Regions from separate parts of the Homo sapiens genome. Here region 1 is linked to region 2. Evidence: promoter capture Hi-C in human tissues and cell types (Jung and others, 2019). All regions are on one chromosome and are shown on one strand. The core of a region is centred on a gene start or on the middle of the fragment in contact, and the rest is flanking DNA. Distances in the headings are between cores, read along the strand shown.

Region 1 (6,472 bases), core at 2,910-5,409, 440 kb after region 2:
GGCCTTTCCGTCACCTTGGTGCCAGCACACACTCCACCCTCCAGGGAGGCCACAGGATCTGGTGAGGACAAGGCGCCCTCCACGGCAGCACAGCTGCCACAGCTTCCAGGGAGATCCCTGGGGGCCCACCGTGGGACCACTTGCCAAGCTGCTCCCCCTTCTCCGTCTCTTTCCTGACCTGCTTCGTCCTCTGGAACCCAGCCAGGCTGCTCTCCTCAGCAGCCTTCACACACGGGCGTGGCCATGAGGCCACTGTCCTTCCAGAGAATCCAGGGGACGGGAGGTGAGCCACTCCCGACGGGCGAAAGAGTCTTCCTGCGTGTCCCTCTGGGACCTGTGGGCCAGCTGGTGGGGAGACAACAGCCCCAGAGACCGTGAAGCCTCTGCCACGGCGGGTCTGCGTGAAGGATGTCCTTCCTGGTGGTCCACACTGCCGCAGAAAAATGACCCCCAAACTCAACGGGGTTCTGAAGGGCTTGGCTGGGTGGGTCTGGCTCAGCTGAGCAGCTGTCCCAGGCCATGGCTCTGAAGCCTCCACAGGGCTGGAGGGGCAGGTCCAAGCTCACCCCCAGTGCTGGCAGGTCGCGGCTCCTCGTGGCTGTGGGCCGGACGTCTCCTCACCATGAGGGCCTCTCCACGCAGGGCCCCGCACGCAGTGGCTGGCTTCCTTCAGGACGAGTGACCCAAGGCAGACAGAGTGACCCAGAGGGAAGCCACAGGGTCCTTCAGGCCCTGGACTCAGGAGTGGCATCCACTTGTGCTCTGGTCACATGGACACACCTGGCCCGGCATGGGAGGACGACACACAGCTTTGAGTACCTCCTTGTCTCTGGGCCGTCCCGGGCCCTCAGGCCCCAGAGATTCTGTGATTCTCCCAGCAAAATGCAGCCACTCCTCCCAAGGCCCCCAGAGTCTGCTGCCGTGTGAGGGCTCTATTGGCCCCAGGAGACTTTTCGAGGGTCCTGCACAGCTGCTGGCAGGCTTTGGTCCTTGCGGGCTGTTGTCTGGAGTCCCGTGCACCTCGGGAGATCGCTCTGTTCTCGCGTCGCCTGAGTTCCCACGGCATGGCTGCTGGCTTCACCCAAGCCCGTGACCCAGGAGACAGAGCAACCAGGAGGGAGACCTGGCATGTCCAGCCCAGTTTCGGAAGTGACCCATCTGCACTCTGCCGCATGCTGTCGGCCGCACAGACTCACCTGGGACTACGTGGAAGAAACCGCAAGGGCGTGAGTGCCAGGAAGCCAGGCTCACCAGGCAGAGCCGTTGCATGAGCAGGACACAAACCTCCGTTGTGTCAGGATCTTTCCATCCCAGGGACCACTTCTTGCCGCAGATTAGCCCTTCCCACAGACACAGAGACTGGAACCTTCATGCAGGGTGTGGCCAAAATATATTTCTACAGCATAGTTACACTGGGGAGGAAACAGACAGGGCAGGTGGAGACTGGGGGCCCTGCCAGGGGCCAGGGTCTGCGGGAATGAGGGGGCAGACCACCCCCACCGAGCCCAGATGCCAGGGAAGGAGCCTGGCCAGAAAGATCCAGAAGGACTCAGTGTCTGGCGGCCCTCGCTGCTCCCCATTCTTTGAGGCCGTTGTTCCCAGATGGGATGTCGGATGCGTCTCTGGCCCGGGCCCCTGGTGAAATGTGATGGAGGGGTGTGGATGGAGCGTGGTGGACACAGCAAGAGCCTGGCCAGGCATCCCTGGGGCAGGACAGCATCAGCCGGGGAGCGGGGTCTAGCCCCAGCCGCCTGGCACAGAGTGGCGCCCAATTCTAGAGCTTGAATGAAAGAGGGAATTCAGGAAGACGCTTACACCAGCCAGGCCCCGGGGCACTCAGGACGGTAGCATCACGGGGTGCCAAAGTCTGCAAAGGTGACAGAGGACGTGGGGCCTCGGCAGGGCTGCCTCCACTTCCCCAAGCACACGGAAGACAGGCAGGGTGGACGGGGGTGACCCGGCCTGGGACCTGGGCTGTACCTTAGACCTCAGTTCCCCTCCACATGGAAGCAGCACCAAGACCCACAAGCCCTCGCTGTGGGGACCCCCGGCCTCACCCACCACCGTCCACATGGCCCCCACACCCACGGCGTTCATCTGGGCCACAAGAAGTGTTCCTCCAGGGCACGGCCCACCCAGGCCCACCCTTGGAGCTTCCCTGGTATGGACTGGCTGGGCTGGCAGAATGGGTCAGGGTGCCAGGCAGACTCTCAGGGACTTGAAGCGAGGACAGAAAATACTCCCCAGACAAGGGCAGACACAGGAGGGAACAATGCCTGAGGACACAGGCCTGAGGCAGGCCAAGCGCTGCCACGCGTGGACTGGACGAAGGCCTGCTAGGCATGGCCTGGCTGGAAGTGAAGAACCGAGGCAGCACCTCTGGCTTGGAGGGAGCAGGTGGGAGCCCTTGCACTGGCTTCCTCTCCCCTGTTCTTATTCTTCTGGAATTAGGGAGGCTGCTGGGAGGTAGAGGAAGCACCTGCCCCAGTCCTCAGAGGACAGAATCATGCGAATGCTTAGTTACCGAGACCTCCTTCCCACCTGCACGCCGGGCCAGTGGCTCTGCCCGTGACAGCCCCGGGCCTGGCCTGTGCTCAGCACTCATCACTCTTGGGTCTTCCAGGCCATGGTGGCATTGCACGCCCTGCCCTAGGTGTGGGGTTGTTTCATGTTTCAGAAGCCGAAGGACCTGCCCTCCCTCTCATCTCAACACAGCGCCTGGCAGAGAAGCAGTTCCTCTGTCTACTCCAGGGGCTCACACGCCCCTCTGTAGCCCGAAAGTCGGCCTCGGATGTGATAAGCCAGGAAACTCCCTGGTCACCAGTGCATAAGCCCTCAGGGGCTCCAGACGCAGCAGCTGGTTCAGAATTTGTTATCCTGGACTAAAGCCTCCCCTTGCACCACCGTGGGGGTGGAAGGAGGTGGCTTGTCTGAGAAACACCAACATGGACAGGGACGTTCACTGTCACAGAGACAAGGCCTGGCCCCACCTCCCCACAGGACTCCCTCCCCAGTGCCTGGTCTGACGGCAGAACCAGGCAACACCCAGTTCCGCTCCCCTCACCCTTGCCTTCAGAAGCAACAGATAACGGCAAACCCTTGCGTGCAGCGACCACATGAAGACCGCAGCTGCGCGGGCTGTAGTTTCTTACCCTCTGTCAGCACGCACGGCTCTCCAACAGATGGGCGATTTCAAGTTGCTCTGCATCTTAAATGACCCCTTGATAAAACCCCAAACGGCTTTGGATGGGTCTGTTTCCTGTATCTTAAGCACAGAAAAAACAGCCCAGATGTTTCTGATTCATTCAAGCTTTAGTTCAAGAGCACGCTCTGCCGTGGGAGTTTCTTTGAAACTGAGGAGACACACAGGCCCTTCCTCCACTCCCTCCTGCCTGGCTGAGAAAAGGGACTTGCTTGCAGCCACCTGAGAGCAAACAGCACAGGTGCATGGAAGAGGGTCCCGCAGAGCCCTGGGGAGCCCGGCTGGGGACTCTGGGAAGCGGACGGCATCCACACGTGTCCACGCATTCATCGTTGGTACGAGATCCAACTCCCTACCTCCCGGGGGTGCAGAACGCAGGGTCCAGGGAGACGGCAGCCACCTTGGGGAGGATTCGGCCTTGTGAGATAGCAAGGTCCTTCCCTCAGTGGTCGTGGCCTCCCCAGAGTCCTACACCCCTCTGCTCTGCCCCCAAAGCCTGCACCCCCTTTAGAGGCCCCCTGAGCATGGAGACGGGTCCGTGTACCTGAGATCTGCAGGCACACAAATGTATCTGCAATGCTGCCTCGGTCAGCTGTGTCACATGGTTCTGCGGCTGCTCTGAAAATGGCCATTAGGTGGGAGTTTTTCTTTCCTTTTTCCTCTCCCCTTCTCTGTTATTGATTTAGAGACTTCATGCAGAAATTGAATAGGAGGAAGGGGGTGACAGTCCTCTGAGACCTGAAATCTCAGCCACGCCACGAGTGGCCGAGGGCCCAGGTCTGGTGACCAATGGTGAGAAGGAGTCATCTCTCAGAACGAGGCCCAGACAGTGCCGGGAACCAGGGGGTCCCACCAGGCACAGGCAGAACCAGCACGGTGCCTCCCCAGAGTCCGGTGACCTGAGGAGCTGCCAGGACGGCCAGACCCCAGTGAGTCAGTGACCACCAGGACGGCCAGGCACTCTCAGCAGCAGAATTCAGGCTGCATTCATTTTCTCCAAGGAGTGCAGTGTGGGTTCGGACAGTTTGAGCTCAAGCATTAGGGCTCTGTGGAGCAGGATCACAGCTAGTTATTGGGAAATCACCAAAAATGCATCGATACACAATTCTAGGTTCCAAACAAGAAGAGAAAGGACACTTTCGCTTTTAAAAGAAGGAAGATACAAAGCCTGGCAATGAACAGAAGTTTACAGAACAGAAAAATATGGGGTTAAAAACAGCCATTGGAGTCTTCCCAATTCTCATTCAGAGAGGGTGGCATGAAAGCCAACAGAAATCGATGTTGATAGGAAACAAGTGTCATCAGAGAAGGTAAGGGCATTCGCAGAGGGAATAATATTATTTGTGAACTGTCATGGCATGGCCGTTTTTAAACTTATCTTCACAGCATCTCTCCTCATAAGCAAGAGCATGAAGAGCACGGAGAATGTCTGTTTGGTGGCCGACAGCCATCACGGGGTCTCTACGTGCCGGCCAGTCCTCACCTCGTTTGCACGCGTTTATGAACTTAGCCCTCCCTCCGCACCATGAAGGGGCCCTTATCGTCCCGTTTCACAGGTGTGGAGACAGAGGCTCGAGGGGAGAAACAGCCCTGGCGGGCGAAGGCAGAGCTGAGCTTCCGAGAAGGGCCTCCTGTGTTCAGAAATTCCAAAGGAGAAGTAGAAGTTGTCCTGTGGGCAGGAGGGGAGGGAGAAACTCCCAGATGACAGGTGCGAGCCGCGGCCTCGTGCTGACATCTAGAACCGGATGATGGGAGCGAACCGCGGCCTCGTGCTGACGTGTAGAGTGGGAGGGACCCTGGCATCCAGGGGCTTCTTTCTTGGGGAAACACCAAGTATAGAAAGTCAACCATCGTTGTCTCTCACGTAGGATTAACTGTTGCTTTTCAGCTTTTTTACACTTATTTTTTGTTAAGCTATGTCACTACACTTTTTTTTCTGAAATAACGTTAGACTTATGGAAGAGTTGCCAAGATCGTCCAGGAGTCCCCGCCCCCTTCAGGCAGCTTCCTCCCGTGTCAGCACCTTGCATACCCGACCTTGACCACAAGGATTGAGGCTAAGAATTAACACGGGGCAATTAACTACACAGTAGCTTGATTCAGATTCCTCCAGTTTCTGGTAACATCCACCTCCTGCTTTAGAAACAACACTGAGTTCCATGAGCACGCAGGTGTCATCTCGCTGTAGGCTCCAGCCCACGGCAGGCCCCGTGTTTCCTTGCCTCCCATGGCCTTGCCACTTGGAAGAGCACTGGCTGGGTGTTTTGAAGAACAGCCCTCAGTTTGAGTTTGCTATTTTATCATGTCTGGATCGAAGTTATGTGTCTGTGCCAAGAAACTGGCAGAAGCCCCATACCCTGCTCAGCGTCCGCAGTAGTGACTCACGGGCCCTATGCTTTGCCTCATTATGGGTTGTTTTGGCCCTGGTCACCTGGTTCTGGTGGGATCTGCTGGCTTCCCCCACTGTAACGTTACTATTCTTCATTTGTAATTTATTTATTTGTATTTACTTATTTTGAGATGGGGTCTCTCTCTGTCCCTCAGGCTGGAGTGCGGTCGTGCAATTTTAGCTCACGGCAACCTCTACCTCCCGGGCTCAAGCAATCCACTCGCTCAGCCTCCCAAGTAGCTGGGACTACAGGTGTGTGCCACTGCGCCCAGGTAATTTTTGTATTTTTTTAGAGACAGGATTTCACCGTGTTGCCCAAGCTTCTCTCAAACTCCTGAGCTCAGATGATCTACCTGCCTTGGCCTCTCAGGGAAGATACTTTGAGACTACAAGAGTATCCTATTTCTCCTCAAAGTCTTTTCTGCTAATTTTAGCATGGGTTGGTGGGTTTTGTCTGCAACAATTACTACTGTGGTGTTCTGAGATGATTTGTTTCCTCACTACTCTGCTGGAATTCCTCTGAAGGAAGGACCGCCCTCCCCTCACTGATTTATTCAATCACTCGTGTGCCTTCATGTGGACTTGTGCATATTTATGCTTTGGATGATCATCCCACACTGTCATTATTTACTTAGTTGCTAAAATTTACCCAGCTCTGGCCACTGGGCTTTTCCAGGCGGGCCCTTGGGACCCTCCCATCCTTCGGGAGCACTTTCTCGCTTTCCAGCATAACCCCAGGCTGCCCCGGTTTTTCCCCCAGCCCTGGAATCCATCATTTCTCCAAGGAACCCTGCTCTTTTTACTGGAGAATGAGCTTTAGAGACCAAGGTCAGGGCACTAACTGTGCTCATTGCTGCTGGGGTGTCGCTGAGCAAAGAGAA
Region 2 (5,975 bases), core at 1,093-3,592:
GGGTAAGGCTCGCCTTCCCAGGTGGAGCCAACAATCCGAGACAAAGACAGCCGCTGAGTGCTATCAGGGTGGGCCTTTGTAAAGGACCGCCCTGCCCCGGGGAGTTGCTGCTGGAGCCGGCAGCCTCCCCGCCCTCAAGGACGTCTTCCCAGAACCAGTCCAAGTGTTTGGGAGACCTGAAGGCTTTTCCCTGTGAATAACAAACTCTGAGGCCAGGCAAAGCCCTGGTCAGTGTGCCTTATCTGCCGGCTCCCAGGCGGGGCTGGCTGGTGCCTGGCGGCTGTCATTGGACCTTCAGATGCCAGATTCTGACTCTGTACACTGGGCTAAACTGGGAGAGGCCCCAGCTTGTACAGAAATTAGATATTCACGGCCGGGCGCGGTGGCTCACGCCTGTCATCCCAGCACTTTGGGAGGCCGAGGCGGGTGGATCACCTGAGGTCTGGAGTTCAAGACCAGCCTGACCAACATGGAGAAACCCTGTCTGTACTAAAAATACAAATTAGCTGGGCGTGGTGGCTCATGCCTGTAATCCCAGCTACTCGGGAGGCTGAGGCAGGATGTGGAGGTTGCAGTGAGCCGAGATCGCGTCATTGCACTCCAGCCTGGGCAACAAGAGCAAAATTCTATCTCAAAAAAAAAAAAAAAAGAAAAAAAAAGAAATTACCTTTTCAGTTTACACCAGGGGGGCACTCCCGTCAGAGGAAAGCAGGGTGAGCTTTAGGACTGGGCGGCCGCAGAGCCCAGGTTGAGTCTGGACCTCCCTGATGCCCCAGGGGCCCTTCTCAAGGAAATCAACTGTAGGAGGCAGCCAGCCTCAGAGACTCCCCCCCGGCCAGCATCCCAAGCCCCCAGTGGAAAGCCCAGGGAGGACAGCCTGAGCCTGGAGAGCAGGCAGCCCGGCGGGGAGCTGAAAGACACCAGGGCGAGGAGGAGGCTGCGGAGAAGGGAGGAGGCGGGAGGGCTCAGAAGAGCCCTTATGAGACAGAAAGCAAACACACAAGGGGCCTGAAGGGGAGGGGAGACCCTGGCATAAATAGGGCAGGCGGCAGGCGTCACTGAAGGAAAAGGCGCCTTCTCCAATCAAGCCTGCTGGGCGTACCAGGTTCCACCAAGGCCAAGGTCCTCTCAGCTGTTCTCCCCGGAGCCTGTCCCTCCCCTGTCCTGCGTGGGCGCCCCTCCTCGGCCCCAGCATCGAAACCTCCTCTCGCCCCAGTCCAAAGCTGCTCTGGAAACCTGCCGCGGCGCCTGCTGCTCTGATCTTGCTTCTCCTGGCCCCACTCGGGCCCCCTAATCCCCCCTCCACACGAGTGACCACCTCCCTGCCACCCCTGGAGAGACCCTACCCTGTGGACCAACACATGAAACTTTGATCCCCACGAGCTCCTCAGGAAGCTGACCTTCCTGTCACCTTGCCAGGAGCTACCTGCCGTGCCCACATTACTGGTTCATTGGCGCCGGTTAAGAAGAAGAGAAATCTGACCGACCGGGATTTTCTAAAAAAAAAAAAAAAAAAGGAGGCCCGCCAATGGGAACGCTGCGCCTGTAGGGAGGATTCTGCTGGGTTTCATGCGGGTAGCACCGCTTTTCTTTTCTGCCCTTGTAACTCACGAAAAAACGCCATCACTCCAAGGACGTTTCTCTAAAAAGCCTGAGAACCCCGAAGGAAACCCGGCCCCGGGGACTCCCTGGGCGCGAGCAGCCTGCAGTCTGCGGGGCTCGGAGCGGAGGCGGGGCGGAGACCCCACAGGGACCCGGGAGCCGGGAGTCCGGGGCTCCGAGGCTGTGCCCCCGCCGGGGAGGGGAGACCTCGGGACCCGCAGGGGCGGCTTAGCGCGGCCAGAGTCGCTCCCGAGTCTCGCTCTGCTGGACCCGAGAGCCGGACTCTCCCGGGCGGCCGCCGCGCGGCTCCGACCTGATGCGCGCGGCCACAACGAAGCCCCCAGGCCCAGCAGAGGCGGCCGCACACCCCGCGGGCAGATCCGGAGACCCCGGGGCCACTTACCGATCTTGGCCAAGCTGGCCACGAGGATCCAGAGCGCGATGACGTAGGGATCCTGCACGTGGGCCCACTCGAAGGTGACCACCTGGAAGCCCCCGCTCTCGCCGTGCGCGCCGCCGGGCTCCACCTCGACGCCCCCGGCCCGCGCCAGCCCGCCCAGCGCCAGCGCCAGCAGCAGCCCCCGGTCGGGGCCCCGGGCCCCGAGTCCCCACATTGCCGCCTGCTCAGCGCAGGGCTGGGACGCGCATGTCGCGGGGGGTCCCGGCTGGGCTGGGCCGACGCGCGGGGCTGGGACCCGGCGAGGACCCGGCGCGCTCCGGTGCCGGTACCGGCTACAGTCCGATCCCCGCCCGCCGGGGTGGCCTTTAATCCCGCGGCCCCCTCCCGCCCCGGGGCGGAGCCTGCCCGCCCCCGCCGCGCACTCGCGAGCGCAGACACCGCCGCAGCTCCCGGCACGCCCGCCCCGCCCGCGCACGCCCACCCCGCGCTCCCTGGTGCCCACCCTCCCCCGGAGCCCGCGGCCTGGAGGTCCGGGAGGTCGCGGCAAGAGCGAGCCCGGGACTGCGCGGCCGCCTTCCTGGGGCGTGGGGAGCACAGCGCGGGGCAGCGGGACAGGCGGTTCCGCGCAGCTCCTGGGATGCCCGGGCAGCTGTGGGTGCGCTCGCCCCAACCCTCCTTCATAAACGCAGGGCCTGGGGCTGCGCAGACCCCACAGGGCGGCCCAAGGGTGCACAGGGGCCCCAGGTGTGTCTTCACACAGCCCCTCGCTATTGTCTTCAGCAGGAACCTGCATTCCACAGCCGGACCGGCCACTTACCAGAACTCGGGGGCGCCCAGGCCTTGCGTGGTGCGCTGGTAAGTCTCTCTGCCCCTCCCATCGCCAGCCAGCATCCCCCACCCCAGGCTCTGAGATGGGAGCCCAGGGGCCCCCGTGGTCTCCCCTGCCCCATCCCCTGCCTTTAGACCTCCGCCCAAAACAATTCGATACCCCCAGGGCTTCACACGGATGCGGGGCCTCTGCCCACAGCCCGCTCCGGCAGCACTGGCTCTCTTAAGCATCTCAGGCTCCACTGTGCAAACCACACCCCTGTTTTCCTCCAAGCCCACCCTGCAGCCTTCCAGCCCCAGACCTGGGACGCAGGTGGACTTCTTTCGCTCACAAGGTTTCCAAGCTCTTAGCATATCTGCTCTACTTTCAAAATGTGCACAAAACCAGCGGCTTCTGGGAGCCTGCAGCCACCTGCAAAGGCTCCTGCTCGGCCCTCTACCTGCCCCTTCAGTCCCTCCTATTGGGACCCTCCCTCTCAGAGGAAAGGCTCAACGTCTCCCGGGAGCTCAGACCCCAGCCACTGCCTGACCCCCACCCCCATGCACTCCACGGCCCACACCAGCAATCGGCGCCTCTCGGGGCCTTTGCACGCCCTGCTCCCTCTGTTTGGACGGCTCTTGTGTGCTCCCTTCCTCAGCTCCCCAGGGGCTTGGCTCCAATGCCACCTTCTGGTCCCACCCGATACCCACTCAGCTCACAACTGTGGCAGCTAAGCTCCCGCCTCCCCTGCTTACTCGGTTGGCTCCGGGAATCAGCTCACCTCCCAGCCCTGGGGGCTGCTGGCTTTGACCTTGAGCTGTCTGCCCTCACCCTGGGAATGTCTGCTCCACGAGCAAGGGGCTCATGCATACATCCCAGGAGCTTGGAAGATAGCTGGGCACACAATAGCACTCGCAAGATAGTGGCTGAGCGGATGGATGATAGATGGATGGAAGGACAGATAGGTGGACAAAGGGCAGGTGGGCGGTGGGGTGGGTGCAGATGGAGGATGGATGTGTCTTCTGACATCTGAGTGGGGGCTGCGGAGGCCTGAGGAGGACAGTGCTGAGTTCAATGACTTCACCCTGCAAGGGCCCCAGTTTCATGCTAATGGAAGTGGCCCGTGTAGCACAGGGAAGGTGCATTCAGATGGTGCTCGCCTGGTGACTCGGCTGCTGAGTGGCGTGGAGGGAGGGCAGCCCTGGCCTGGGCCACTGCAGGGTCTGGACAGGGCACCGGGGGAGTGGAAGTGTGTGACTGGCCACTAGTATGGTCTTGCGAGGTGGGAGCATCGGAGTCGCTCTTGGCCTGTGTCCCTGCCCCACCTGTCTCTGTCCCCCACTCCACTCCCAGCCTCTTGTCCCAGAGAAAAAGCCAGCAGGACAAGAACAGGATTCCCTCCAGTCCGGAGCTTCCCTGCTCTTTCCTTATGGTTCCTGGGTGGAGCCGTTAGGAACGACGTCCTCTCTGAAGATGTTGCCCTTGCATTCCACAGGAAGGCCAAATTTCCACCAGACCAGTGTGTTCCATGATGCCCACTGGACCTCCGGCCACCCCACCCCCCAACCAGCCTGTCCTAAGAGCCGACAACCTTTCTCCACAAAGCTGTTCAAAGGGCAGAAGAGCAGTGTCACTGCCTGGAAGGACAAATCCAGAACAGACACCAGTGCCAGGCGCTGGCCATCAGGTAGTGTGCTGCCCACACCTCCACTGCCCCCCACAGCAGGAAGGGCTGCCTCATGGAGAATAGAAAGGCAATGAGCCCCTGAAGTGGCGTGGCCAGAACAAGGCACACCCCACTGCCCACGAGTCCTGCCAGGGCACACCCCACTGCCCACGAGTCCCTGCACAGGTGAGAAGTGTGGCTGTTTGGCAGCATCTCAATCTGTGAGCATTTGGAGGATGAAATGCGTCTGCACTCCAAGGTTGCTGGAGGGCTCGGGGCAGACGGGCGCTGCCCCAGCCTGTGATGGGCATGGCCTTGAGGATGCCAGCCTCATGCAGAAGCCAGTCTAGGGGATTATACAGGGTGTGCACACCCACTCCCCTACCCTCGGACTGGAGCCACAAAACCCTCCCTCTAACTGGGTCGTGGTTTTAGGCAGGGCCGTGGCACCCCACCACTGCAGGGGCCACCATCCATATCAGGCAGACTGTATGAACCGTGCCCCTTGGAATTGTACAGTGCACAACCTGCACATCCTCATGGCCAAAAAGACCCAGAGACTTGTGTGTGTGTGTGAGGGGGTCTTGGGAAGTATCCTGAGAACATTCCTGTCCTGTGGGTGGTGACGATCTGATAACTGCCCGACCACTTCCTGCCTCAGGCAGGCACGCATAGCATTCTGGATCCTTCCACCGTGGCCTGGACCCCTTGTGGTCCAGGGACCCCCTGCACGTATGGGGAAGGGGCGTGGCTGTAAAACATTCAAAAATGTGGAAATAATGCAAAAGCCAGTCGGAAAACAACTGTAATCTTATACCCAGCTGCCACAGCATCTGAACTTCAGGATTAAGAAAATAAAACTGAAAACACCTAGTCTGTCACATTAATTTCCTGTCATGAATTCCACATACGGCTTGTGAAAGTGTCTTGTGGATGAAGAGGCGCATCCATTCATACTGTTGTTAACAATATTTAAGAGAAGAAAGTTAAGTTTTTAAGTAACTTCCAATGCTTGAAGCCAGGCAGGAGACAGGCATCACTGCCCACTCTAAGTTTATTTTTCAACCCAAAGTTGTCAGGGGCCAGGTCTTCTTAAGGAAGGTTTTATTCCACTGGGAGCCACACCTGCTGGCCTTCCCTTGGTCCACACCTGCTGTGTGCCAGGCACATCTCAGCTTCAGGCAAGAGGCCCCTCTGGGAGATGCCCTTCCAGGAAAGAGACCACCGCGCCCCCCCGTCATGCCACCTCCCGTCAATGCCACTCTTATTGGTTGTTGGATCCGGGGGATACAAATGTCTTTCTCAAAAGCAGATTAGAGCTCAGCCCTTCCCTTCCCGGGTGGCCTCTGAGGCCTCAGGTGGGACCTTTCCTCTTCTTCAGAGATGGACAGACTCTTGACCAGCCTGGAGCTGGAGGGCCTGCAGGACTTGAGGCCCGCGCTCTGGTCCGTCCTGTCCGTGTTGGGCCTGGGGTCTCCTCACCCGCGGAGACTCACCTT

What was found. The method cuts DNA at HindIII sites, captures the fragments that hold promoters and counts their contacts. A contact is called where the count stands out against the background at its distance.
Region 1: a contact is called between a fragment that was not itself captured here and the fragment with the promoter of SLC9A3 in region 2, in 1 of the 25 tissues and cell types used here (lymphoblastoid cells).

Annotation. Positions count from the first base shown.
Region 1 is chr5:960,947-967,418 of GRCh38, forward strand. It overlaps LOC124900931 (a long non-coding RNA gene), which reads right to left and starts at 3,215. Exons shown (of 2, transcript XR_007058676.1): 1 at 3,153-3,215; 2 at 1,372-1,780. RefSeq lists enhancers at 2,644-2,803, 4,390-4,891. The HindIII fragment of the contact is 5,091 bases long and covers 1,615-6,472 here.
Region 2 is chr5:522,107-528,081 of GRCh38, forward strand. It overlaps SLC9A3 (solute carrier family 9 member A3), which reads right to left and starts at 2,343. Exons shown (of 17, transcript NM_004174.4): 1 at 2,006-2,343. The coding sequence starts at 2,216. LOC107986395 (a long non-coding RNA gene) reads left to right here and starts at 2,552. Exons shown (of 2, transcript XR_001742543.1): 1 at 2,552-2,857; 2 at 4,306-5,349. RefSeq lists an enhancer at 3,910-4,542. The HindIII fragment of the contact is 12,710 bases long and covers 1-5,975 here.